3 separate regions of the Homo sapiens genome follow, and all the other regions are linked to region 3. Evidence: promoter capture Hi-C in human tissues and cell types (Jung and others, 2019). All regions are on one chromosome and are shown on one strand. The core of a region is centred on a gene start or on the middle of the fragment in contact, and the rest is flanking DNA. Distances in the headings are between cores, read along the strand shown. Region 1 overlaps RNF157 (ring finger protein 157). Region 2 overlaps RNF157 (ring finger protein 157). Region 3 holds the start of QRICH2 (glutamine rich 2).

Region 1 (3,659 bases), core at 956-3,455, 110 kb after region 3:
GAATGGTTAAATAAATTATAATGTGCCTATGCCATGAACTGTTATTCAGCAAAAATTAGATAGATCTGCGTCCACTGAGATGGCAATATGTCCACAACCACATGACTTACTGAATAAAGCAAGTTGCAGTGTATAATGTAGAGTCTGATTTCATTTCGGATAAAAATAATATATGTATGTGTGTGCATTATGTACATATATTTATAGCTACACAAATATACTATTACAATGCATTTTGAACTGTTAACAATGGTAACTCTTGGGATATATCAAGAAGGGGGGTATTCACTTCTTAATTCATATTTTCTAAAATTTTCTTTATTTTTTTTTTAGAAATAAGCTTGTTCTGTCACCCAAGCTGGAGTGCAGTGGTGCAATCATAGCTCACTGTAACCTGGAACTCCTGGGCTCAAGCAGTCCTCCTGCCTCAGCCTTCCTGGTAGCTGGGACTACAGATACATGACACCATGCACAGCTAATTTAAAATTTTTTCTTTTTCTCTTTTTTTTTTTTTTTTTGTAGAGACTAGGGTCTCACTATGTTGCCAAGGCTGGTCTTGAACTCTTGGGCTCAAACAATCCTCCTGCCTCAGCCTCCCAAAGTGCTGGGATTACAGGTGTGAGCCACTGTGCCCGGCTCTTCATATTCTTCTATGTTGTTTGAATTTTTTCCAGTGAACGTGTTTTCATTTTTAAATGAAAAGTATTTTAATTTTCTTTAAAAATAGAGGTGGAAATACTTCTAAGTAGAGGAAGGAAATAGGTTTAGAAGAATATTTAGAAGTAGGAAAATTAAGGGAGTTCACAAAATAATGGTTTTAATTTTTTAGTGAACTACAGGAAAGGTAGGGTCTGCTCGCTGGGGTTGGGATGTGTGCCAGGAAGTGTCTGGGGGCTTGCGGAGAAAGACAGAAAACCAGAGTAAGCATGGGGAGGAGGAGAGTCAGGGAGCTCGGTCCTCTTGGTGCCAACATGCAGTAATTCACCTTTAGAAACAGTTGATTCGAAATGGTATGAGATTCAGTATGGAAGTGGCCTGCTTTTCAGCAACCTGACAGTAAAAGAACTAGAGGATGAATATTCATACTTTTAAAATGGTTTAGGGCTTTAAAGAGTTTCACTTAAGGCATTCTTATAATACATGTCTCCCTACTTCCACGCCTTCCCCAGGGGTGACCACCCTGCTCATCACACATCGTTGTACAGTCTCCAGAACTCCTTTCATCTCACAAAACTGAAACTCTGTCCCCACTGGACACTGACTCACCATTTCCCTCTCCTACCAGCCTCTGGCCTCCACCATTCTGTTTTCTGCCTCTATGAGTTTGACTACTCTAGGTACCTCATACGAGTTGAATCATAGAATATTTGTTCTTTTGTGACTGGCTTATTTCACTTGGCATGTGCTTGGTTCATCCATGTTGTAGCATGTGTCAGAATTTCCTTTTTAAGGCTGAATAATATGCCATTATATCGATACACTGTATATCCATTCATCCATCAATAGACAGACACTTGGGTTGCTCCTGCCTTTTGGCTATTGGGCTAGGGAAGAAATGCCTCGGTTTTTTTTGGTTTTTGTTTTTGTTTTTTTTTTTGACAAGACGGAGTCCCGCTCTGTCGCCCAGGCTGGCATGGAGTGGCGCGATCTTGGCTCACTGCAAGCTCCGCTTCCCAGGTTCACAGCATTCTCCTGCCTCAGCCTCCGGAGTGGCTGGGACTACAGGCGCCCGCCACCACACCCGGCTAATTTTTTTTTTTGTATTTTTAATAGAGACGGGGTTTCACTATGTTAGCCAGGATGGTCTCGATCTCCTGACCTCGTGATCCGCCCGCCTCGGCCTCCCAAAGTGCTGGGATTACAGGCGTGAGCCACCGCGCCCGACCTGAAATGCCTAGTTTTATGAAATTATGTAGGCTTGTTGTAGGTTCAGTTTTGAAATTTAACTTGTTTTTATGTTCTTACAAAAAGCACTTTATTCAACTTATATTACTTTTCATCCTTAATAAAGATGAGGACATTATCCCTCTGTTTTATGGAGTTGGATTTCTATGGTAGGTGGATCTTCAGAGAGACGGGGTCCCAGTAGCATGAGCAGGTGGCAGTAGGATGGAGACCAGCGAGCTGCGTCACCAAGTGCAGTCACACTTCACGTTGAGATCACCAGTGATAAGAAGGGGCACTCCCAGAGAAGTTGAATCAGTGTTTATACCTATTAGTATTGATGTGGCTCTTCCTGCCAGCTGTTCTTTTTTTTTTTTTTTTTTTTTTAACTTTCAGCTGCTTTTGGCAGGGCACAGTGGCTCACATCTATAAACCCAGCACTTTGGGAGGCCAAAGTGGGAGGATCACTTGAGCCCAGGAGTTCAAGACCAGCCTGGGCAACATAGTGAGACCCTCTACAAAAAATAAAGGAAATTAGCTGTGTATGATGGAGCGTGCCTATAGTCCCAGCTACTCAAGAGGCTGAGGTGGAAGGATCACTTGAGCCTGTGAGGTTGAGGCCACAGTGAGCTGTGATCAAGCCACTGCACTCCAGCCAAAACCAATTTGGAATATAAGTACACTGGGAGAAGGAGGAAGAGAAAGTAGAGGAAGGAATAGTTTCTTCTTTGTTCATGTTTTAATCTGGTCTCTGTACTAGTTGAGAAGATAGTTTTCTTAAATGATCATAACATGTTGCCAACTTTGATCTTCTTTCCCCTCTCTGTTACACAAATCACTGACTAACTGGCTCACTCCTTCATTATTCCCTCAATCATTTACATTCTGTGGAATACCCATTGTTCTCCAGGCTGATGTTAGACACTAGAAATACCGATGAAATGCAGTCCCTGCCTGAAGGAGTTGTACAGCTAGGAAACATGAACACGTCGGAGGAGGGCCCATGAGCAGAGGCACAGAGACATCTCACCAACAGACGGTGTGTGCACTGCAGGTGATTCAGCATAAGCAGGTGTGGCATCCAGAGGGTGGGAGGAGACTTTGCAAGAGATAAGACTGAGATGCCAGGCCTGGACCAAGGGGCCTGGTATGCCTCCCTGTGAGCTTCGAATTTTTGTCCTGTAGGTGTGGGGAACCACTAATGGGCTTTAAACTGGGGCTCACAGAAGACACATTTTAAAAGATCTCTCAGATGAAGTGTAGAAGGTAGATTAGAGAGTCATGAGAACGGATACAGGGTAACCAGTTGTCCAACTGAGATTTGATGGAGGTTTGACCTCAGGCTGCAGAAGGAATGAAGAGGACACTGACGTATACGGCAGAACCTATGCTGGTAACCAGTGTGGGGCAGAATCTAGGGTGTGGTAATTAGAGTATGTTCAGGCCCCCCAAAGGACGCAGCCAGCTAGTGGATTTTCCCACTTTATGTGCAGACCTATTCTCGTGGAGTAGACACGAAGCCTTTTGAACTTTTCCTCTAAAGATCTCTGTGGCAGTTTTGGAATCAATTACTGTGGTCCATCATTTTTCCAAGCTCCCAAGAACCCCCCTCCCCCAGCACATATCAGATCCAAGGCTCTTGCCAAGGTGTTCATTCTGTGTCATAAGAGAATGTCCCTGTATCAACAGGCTCTCCCTCATCCAACTTTGTATTCCAACACCCTCAGGAACCCCTCCCACACATCCTCCAGGTCCTGCTAGTGCCTTTGTTGGCC
Region 2 (4,074 bases), core at 1,430-3,929, 92 kb after region 3:
CTCCCACCTTAGCTTCCCGAGTATCTAGGACCACAAGCACATGCCACCATGCCTGGCTAACTTTTTAATTTTTTTATTGTAGAGATGAGGTCTTGCTATGTTGCCCAGGCTGATCTTGAACTTCTGGGCTCAAGCAATCCTCCTGCCTTGGCCTCCCAAAGTACTGGGATTGCAGGCGTGAGCCACTGGGCTTGGCCTGGAAGCTTATTCCTTAGTAGACTCCTCAGATGAGCTCAGGGGCTTTTCTTTCTTTGACTACCTTAGAATGTTACTCCCTTGTCTTCTGACATAAAGTGTTTCTGTTGAAAAGTCTGATGACACCGATTTTCTTCCCCTCTAGAATTTTGACTTTTTGCCTGGGTGCCTTTCTTTCTTTAAAGGTCAGTCATTTTACTGAACTTGTCTTAGTGTTGATCATTCTGGCTCATACCTTTTGGTTTTTTTTCTTGATATTTATGTGTTTATTATTGTGGCAAAAAAACACATAACGTTAAATTTAATCATAGTAACCATTTTTAAGCATTCATTAGTGTTACATATATTCACTCTGTTTTGCAACAGATGTCTAGAACTTTTTTATTTTATAAAACTAAAACTATGTACTTGTTAAACATTAATTTCCCCTTTCTCCTTCCCACTCATACCTTACGGTTTACGTATAATCTTGGAGATATGTGTATGATGTGACTTTTTAAAGCCTGCAAAGAATTCTGAATATGAGTTTTGATTAATAAATTATAGCTCACTAATAATGAAACACTCGAAGTTTATCTACTAGTGACATATGTTTTTTTCCCGTTAGCAAATAGGCAAGGGTGTATTTTAGTTGAGTTCTGCAGTTTATCTGTGAGTGACGTGTTTCTCCTGGTAACAAATAGGCAAAGAAGTACTTTAGTAGAGTTCTTTTCCCCCACCACTGATTTTGAAGCACAGTTCATTGTGTTAAGAAGTAAAAATATGCATAAGCTGTCTAAAAGTCATCTTGTTTGGGGACTGTTGATGTGTTTGGTGTTGGTATCTGATGATCTAGTAGCTATACATAGCTGTGCACCAATTTGTCCCTCTAGAAAGACTGAGCAAGTAGAAAGCTTTATTCAGTCTGAAAAAGGCTGATTTGCTTTTCTCATTTGTCTAAATGAAAGCAAGCTGCTAGAGGGGTTCATTTCAAAGAAAGGAAAAAGCAAATTTTTGGTTGTAAAATGAAATACCAATAAGTAAATTTATTTTTCCTTTTAACAGATGAGGATGGCTGGGCTCGGTGGCTCACACCTGTAATCCCAACACTTTGGGAGGCTGAGGCGGGCAGGTCTCTTGACCCAGGAGTTTGAGACCAGCCTGGCCAACATGGTGAAACTCCATCTCTACAGAAAAACAAAAACAAACAAAAAATAGATGAAGGTTTGGGGAGCTCTTTTTAATTCATACAATCTTGCACATTTTATGCGTCTTCCCCTTAATAACCAAAAGTTTAGAAATTAATATTGCTAAAGAATTATTGAGTGATTGAACAGGTGTTCAAGCTAATTTTAAGTAAAAGTAAGAACAATTTTGCCAACTTTGTAATTTTGAGAAAATCATTCCCAGTTATAAGTATACAGCTTATATAGCTTTTATGGGGTTTTTTGTTTGTTTGTTTGTTTTTTGTTTTTGTTTTTGTTTTTTTTTGACACAGGGTCTTGCTCTTTTACCCAGACTGGAATGTAATGGCGCAGTCATGGCTCACTGCAGGCCTGACCTCCTGGGCTCAAGTGATCCTCCCACCTCAGCCTATTGAGTAGCTGGGACCACAGGCTTGGGCCATCATACCCAGCTAATTTTTTAATTTTTTGTCGAGACAAGGGTCTAATTATAATATATTGTGAACATTTTTAATGTCAGTAGATATAGATTTACAACACCACTTTGAAAGGCTTCATAATACTCTACTGACTGAATATACCATAGTATTATTATTATTATTATTTTTAAATATACAGAGACAGAGCCTCACCATGTTGCCTAGGCTGGTCTTGAGCTCCTGGGCTCAAGTGATCCTCTCACCTTGGCCTCCCAAAGTGCTAGGATTACAGGTGTGAGCCACCACACCCAGACTATTCTTGATTTTAATGCAAGGCAAAACTACAATTAGCTCTACACATCTTTTGTGGTCATTTCTTTTCTTTTAATATTATGGCATAAAAGGGCATTTCTAATCGAACCCTGTTGCCTGCTTTAACTCTTTAGCCCCCAAATCATTAGGGGTCCTCTCTCGCTAGGTTCAATCATGGCCACCTCTAAGCCAATCATCCATGGATTTTTACTGCCCCAGATCCCTCCCCTGAGATCTCACAGGTACTGGAAACTCAGTGGTCCCACACTGAGGTCAACCTAGACAATTCCAGACATCAAACTCTCTTCTCTCCCTTTCTTTTTTCATGATTTGGGCAAGCCATCCATCTGTGTAACATCTTTAACTTTTCCAATTTTACCTAATATATGATAAATGTATAATTCCTGATGCATAGAAAATATATCTTGCTGAAGTTCATCAGTAAATGACTTAAATTATTTGAGATTGCTGCTTCTACTTAAGGCAACTAGGTACCTCCCCTCTCCATAAATTATGCACTTGGAAAATAGGGCTAGCAAGTGCCAGACATAAATAATTGATAATTAAGCTTTCCTAAATGATGAATTCTGCTGTTGTATCACTGTATCAGATGGCTGCCCTTTGTCTTTTTAAGTTTTAATGGGTGACTTTCAGTAGTTCCTCAGTGATTGCTTTGATCTGGGTTGCATTATTACTCTCAAAGAATGTTTTCCTGCTTGTTTAATTCAATAGTTGCCTCACTTTGTGGTGAGTGATTTTATCCACATTGTTTTATTTAATAGATGTTTCTAGACTAAAGCTCCTTGTGTAGAAAGTTTTAAAAATGAATGTTTGGTTCAGTTTTTGCTAGAATTTTCTTCTCTGTCTTCCTTCCTATGGCTTCTCCACAGGCTCAAAGTACTGAATCTCATTTTTTTTTTTTTTTTAGTTTGCTATAAATCTTTTTTTCCTTTTTTCTTTTCTTTTCTTTTTTCTTTCTTTCTTTTTTTTTTCTTAGAGAGGGTCTCACTCTGTCACCCAGGCTGGAGTGCAGTGGCAATCATAGCTCGCTGCAACCTTGAACTCCTGAACTCAAGCGACCCTTCTGCGTCAGCCTTCTGAGTAGCTAGAACTCCAGACGCATGCTACCATGCCCAACTAATTTTTGTATTTTTATTTATTTTTTGTTTTGTTTTTAGTAGAGACAAGGTCTTGCTAAGCTTGCTAAGTTGCCCAAGCTGGTCTCCAACTCCTGGCCTAAAGCAATTCTCCTGCCTCAGCCATCCAGAGTTTTAGGATTACAGGCAAGATCCATCACACCCTGCCTGCTACAAATCTTCAACAAAAATTGCAACTGATTTAGGGAGTTTGTGTATATCCTCAATGTATTATACACAAGCAAGCCTTTTGCCACTTAATAAGTTCCTTGTGTTAATTTCAGAAATGGGGTATATGAGAGTGTTGATAAAGGTATATTATGGGATGTGTCCTTTACTTTGGACAGCTTACCTTCATGGGAGAATTAGATAATAGAAATTAGAGGTAAGCGGCATTCGTTTAATCATCAAACTTAAAATGTATTCCCAGATGTAATTTTCAGCATAACCTAAGCCTCCTTTGGTGACTTCTCAGTTCCATCATATCCTGTCACAGTTCCTTGGTTTGTCCGGATGAGGCTGATGGGAATTTTGGCCCCTGACTGCTGATTTCATTTGGTTATTATATTGCACTGAAAATATTTCTGCCTCCTGGCTGATTAAGAAGGGGCAAAGGGGCCCTGCCATGACTGATGTCCCAGCAGTTCTGGCCATTAGCACTGTTAATGAATTTGAGGTGGAGAGGGTATGTGTGTAGCCTTCTTTCATAGCATTAAATTGTCCCCTTATTTTACACCATAGTCTGTGTAGTAATTGGTAGAGAAAGCCAGGGATAACTGTATTATCTAAATTCGTATTTTCCTGTGAAACAATAATGTTTGCAGCAAGTTAAAGTGTGAAGAACCTTCA
Region 3 (3,718 bases), core at 226-2,725:
GTAGTATCTGCATATAAGCTATGCACATCCTGGATGACTTGTAATACCTACTGCAATATCCTGTGTAGATGGTGGTCATGCTGTATTATTTAGAGAATCATGACAGGAATCTGTACGTGTTCAGTCGTGGTTGGTTAAATCTGCAGATGCAGAGCTCACGGAGGAGGCTGGCCATGCATGGCACACATTCATAGGTTCTCTTTAAGTAGCCTTGCTGTGCTTCTGTTAGGAAGTTTTATTTATACGTTTTTGGGAAGAATCTTGTATGGGGAAGTCATGTCTCAATTGTTAACACCAGATTTGTCTCGTGCTGTTTAATCCTGCTTTGTAATGAGCTCAAGCACAGGCGCTTGACCAGGTGAGTGGTTTCTTTTCTTTTCTTTTTTTTTTTTTTTGAGACAGAGTCTTGCACTGTCGCCCAGGCTGGGGTGCAGTGGTGCGATCTTGGCTCACTGCAACCTCTGCCTCCCGGGTTGACGCGATTCTCCTGCCTCAGCCTCCCGAGTAGCTGGGATTACAGATGCGCGGTACCATGCCCGGCTAATTTTTTGTATTTTTAGCAGAGGGGTTTCACTATGTTGGCTAGGCTGGCCTTGAACCCCTTACCTCAGGTGATCCACCCGCCTCGGCCTCCCAAAGTGCTGGGATTACAGGTGTGAGCCACCAAGCCTGGCCGTTTTTTTGAGATCAATTAATTTATGGCAGGCTGGGCGCGGTGGCTTACACCTGTAATCCCAGCACTTTGGGAGGCCGAGGTGGGTCGATCACTTGAGGTCGGGAGTTCAAGACCAGCCTGGCCAACATAGTGAAACCCCGTCTCTGCTAAAAATACAAAAAATTAGCCGGGCATGGTACCACGCATCTGTAATCCCAGCTACTCGGGAGGCTGAGGCAGGAGAATCATGTCAACCCGGGAGGCAGAGGTTGCAGTGAGCCGAGATCGTGCCATTGCACTACAGCCTGGGCGACAGAGCAAGACTCCCTCTCAAAAGTAAAAAAAAAATTATGGCAGCACAGAAAAGGGACAATTAGCCACCAGTTAGTCATCTAGTGGCTAATTGGAACTGCCTGAATAGTGAGTGGGTTGTCTTTTCCAAGTTGCTTCACCTTTGATTGAACAAAATATGTGGACTGTCTGAGGGGACCAGGGCCCCAGGACTGCATCCCTTAGACATGGGGCCATAGACATGGGGCCACCACTCTGGAATGGACGCAGCTGATGACACAAAGCATGGTTGCCAGGAAACCCTCAAGTCTTTCCTTATGTGGCCCCGCCAAGAGTGAGTGAATCCTGGCCTTTCTAGGTTAAGGGGATGGATGGAGTCTAGCTGGATCTTAGGAGGCCTCCTCAGCCCGTTGCCAAGGCTCCCCTTGTGATCCTTGTGGTGGCCTTTACTTCCCCCCGCCCCCGTGGCTCGCAGGGAGGCGTGTTGTTACGTGGAATCTTCAGGGCACGCGGGGGCCCCCACGTTTCAAACGTCCGCCGGCGCGGGGACTGGGAGTCCAGGGCTCCAGCTCGGGGACCCGAGGCCAGCGACAGACAGCGGAGGGGTGGCCATCGCGGACCCCGCCGGGGAGCGGAGGCGCAGATTCCCTGGAGGCAGGAGCTCTGTCCAGTGACTCGGCCGGACCCGGGGCAGGGGCGCCCCGAGGACCTCGCAGGGCCCCCGAAAGGCCCCAAGGCGCGGCGTGCAGTGAGCGGGAAGTGGTTGGCCGGCGCCCCGCGGCGGCGCACAGCTCCTGACAGCCACGATGCCGCCCGCGACCACGGTCTCCCTCCGGGAGCTGGCGGACCTCTCCATCGGCACGCCAGAGGTGGGCGCCGTCAACTTCACGGCCCTGCACACGCTCATCGTGGCCATGCTCAAGAACCTCGACCTCCAAAATACCCGGATCGACTTCCAGCCCTCGTCGCCCGAGCCCAGCCGCTCGCTGCAGTCCGTCCGGAGCTCGTTCAGCATCCCGCACCTGCCCGCGCCCAAGGAGGTGCCCAAGGGGGCGCCCCGGGAGAAGCGCAGGGGCGTGGGCCAGGCGCCTTCGTCAGCGCTGGAGAGCCAAGTGAAGGACCTGGGCGGCCAGGTGGAGGACCTGAGCAAGCAGCTCAAGCGTGTGGACGGCCAGGTGCAGGGCATCGCCACGCACGTGCAGCACTTCTCCCAGGCCAGCGGGCTTGACCTGGCCGCGCTAGAGTGGCCGGAGGAGCAGGAGGTGGGCGTGCGGGCGTTCGATAGGGTGCGGACTGGGAGTATCATGAAGGACGCCGCCGAGGAGCTCAGCTTTGCCAGGGTGAGCACGCACACGGAGGCACGCGCAGGCCGTCTGCCTCCTCCAGGCCGCCCTCCAGGCCTAGCCGAGTCCCCACCACCCTGGAGGGGTGAGCGGTGGTGGGGACGGAGGGGATGGGGACCGAGGAGGTGCCAGACCTCAGTGCGACTGGCTAAATAGAGTGGCCCATGCTCTACCTTGCAGTCCACGGGGCTGCAAGACGTGAAAATCCTAAAAGAACGCCACCAAAAGGCCTAGGGCCTCCCCGAGCTGGAGGGGCCTGGGGACCCCACCTCCTAAGTGTAGTGGCCCCATCCCACCCCCTCCTTCCTAGCCCCTGTTTACGGGAGAGGTTCGCCCACCACTTATCAGACATCCAAGGACCCAGAGCTGGCTCAGAGTGGGGCCGGCAACTTCTCAGAAGATTCTTAGAGTGAATTCCCTTTTTAAAATGAATAAGGACATGAAGAGATACGTGTTGAGGACAAAGGCTCCCAGAGAAGGGGAGTCAGGATGGAGAGTTGGACCTCAGCTTCCTATGGCCATGACACAAGCCACAGCAGGCAGGGGACCGTTTCACTTGGACTTTTTTTTTTTTTGAGAAGGAGTCTCACTCTATCACCCAGGCTGAAATGCAGTGGTGCAGTCTCGGCTCACTGCAACTTCCGCCTCCCAGACTCAAGCGATTCTCCTGCCTCAGCCTCCCGAGTAGCTGGGATTATAGGCGCGCGCCACCCCGCCTGGCTAATATTTGTGTTTTTAGTAGAGAAGGAGTTTCACCATGTTGGCGGGGCTGGTCTCAAACTCCTGACCTCAAGTGATCTGCCCGCCTCGGCCTCCCAAAGTGCTGGGCATTACAGGCGTGAGCCACTGAGCCCTGCCTTCAACTGGACTTTTGTTTTCTTGGAGGGACAAATGCATGTAATCATTGAGTATAAGTATTGTCCAGTGAACAGCAGGAAGCAACGCAGGTCAGCGCCAGGAGGTAATAGACACGTGCATGTCTCAGAGCCACCTTAGGTTGGTTCTGAAAGAAAAAGCAGAAGCAACTAGGAAGGCAGCTGGGTGGGGAGGCCAAGAGGAGAGACAGGAGGGGAAAAAGAGGCCGGGAAGAGGCAGGAAGAAGAGGCCAAGCCCCAGCAGGGGAGCCCTGGCCGCTCATGCCCTCCTGCCATATCACCCCAGGTCTCGAGACCGCAGCACCAACTCACTTTTGCTCTGGGAAGCATGTCTGCTTTCCTTTTCAAACTTTAAAGTGTGGTGGGGGTTTTTTTTGTTTTAATTTTTTTGGGTTTTTTTTTTTTTTTTTTTTTTTTTGAGACACATTCTCACTCTGTCACCCAGGCTGGAGTGCAGTGGTGCATTGTCGGCTCACTGCAACTCCATCTCCTGGGTTCAAGGAATTCTCCTGCCTCGGCTTCCCGAGTAGCTAGGATTATAGGTGCACACCACC

Evidence for each region. Contacts are between HindIII fragments. The study calls those that stand out against the background at their distance.
Region 1: a fragment that was not itself captured here is called in contact with the fragment with the promoter of QRICH2 in region 3 in 2 of the 25 tissues and cell types used here (adrenal gland and small bowel).
Region 2: a contact is called between a fragment that was not itself captured here and the fragment with the promoter of QRICH2 in region 3, in 6 of the 25 tissues and cell types used here (H1 embryonic stem cells, bladder, hippocampus and 3 more).

The regions. Positions count from the first base shown.
Region 1 is chr17:76,198,183-76,201,841 of GRCh38, reverse strand. All of the region lies in intron 2 of RNF157 (ring finger protein 157), which reads left to right. Among named protein-coding and RNA genes, the nearest start is that of RNF157, 40 kb to the left of the region's middle. The HindIII fragment of the contact is 4,834 bases long and covers 1-3,659 here.
Region 2 is chr17:76,214,482-76,218,555 of GRCh38, reverse strand. The region is part of intron 1 of RNF157 (ring finger protein 157); the gene reads left to right. Among named protein-coding and RNA genes, the nearest start is that of RNF157, 24 kb to the left of the region's middle. The HindIII fragment of the contact is 4,066 bases long and covers 647-4,074 here.
Region 3 is chr17:76,306,033-76,309,750 of GRCh38, reverse strand. QRICH2 (glutamine rich 2) reads left to right here and starts at 1,475. Exons shown (of 19, transcript NM_001388453.1): 1 at 1,475-2,286. The coding sequence starts at 1,753. It overlaps PRPSAP1 (phosphoribosyl pyrophosphate synthetase associated protein 1), which reads left to right. Exons shown (of 10, transcript NM_002766.3): 10 at 1-273. The HindIII fragment of the contact is 11,814 bases long and covers 1-3,718 here.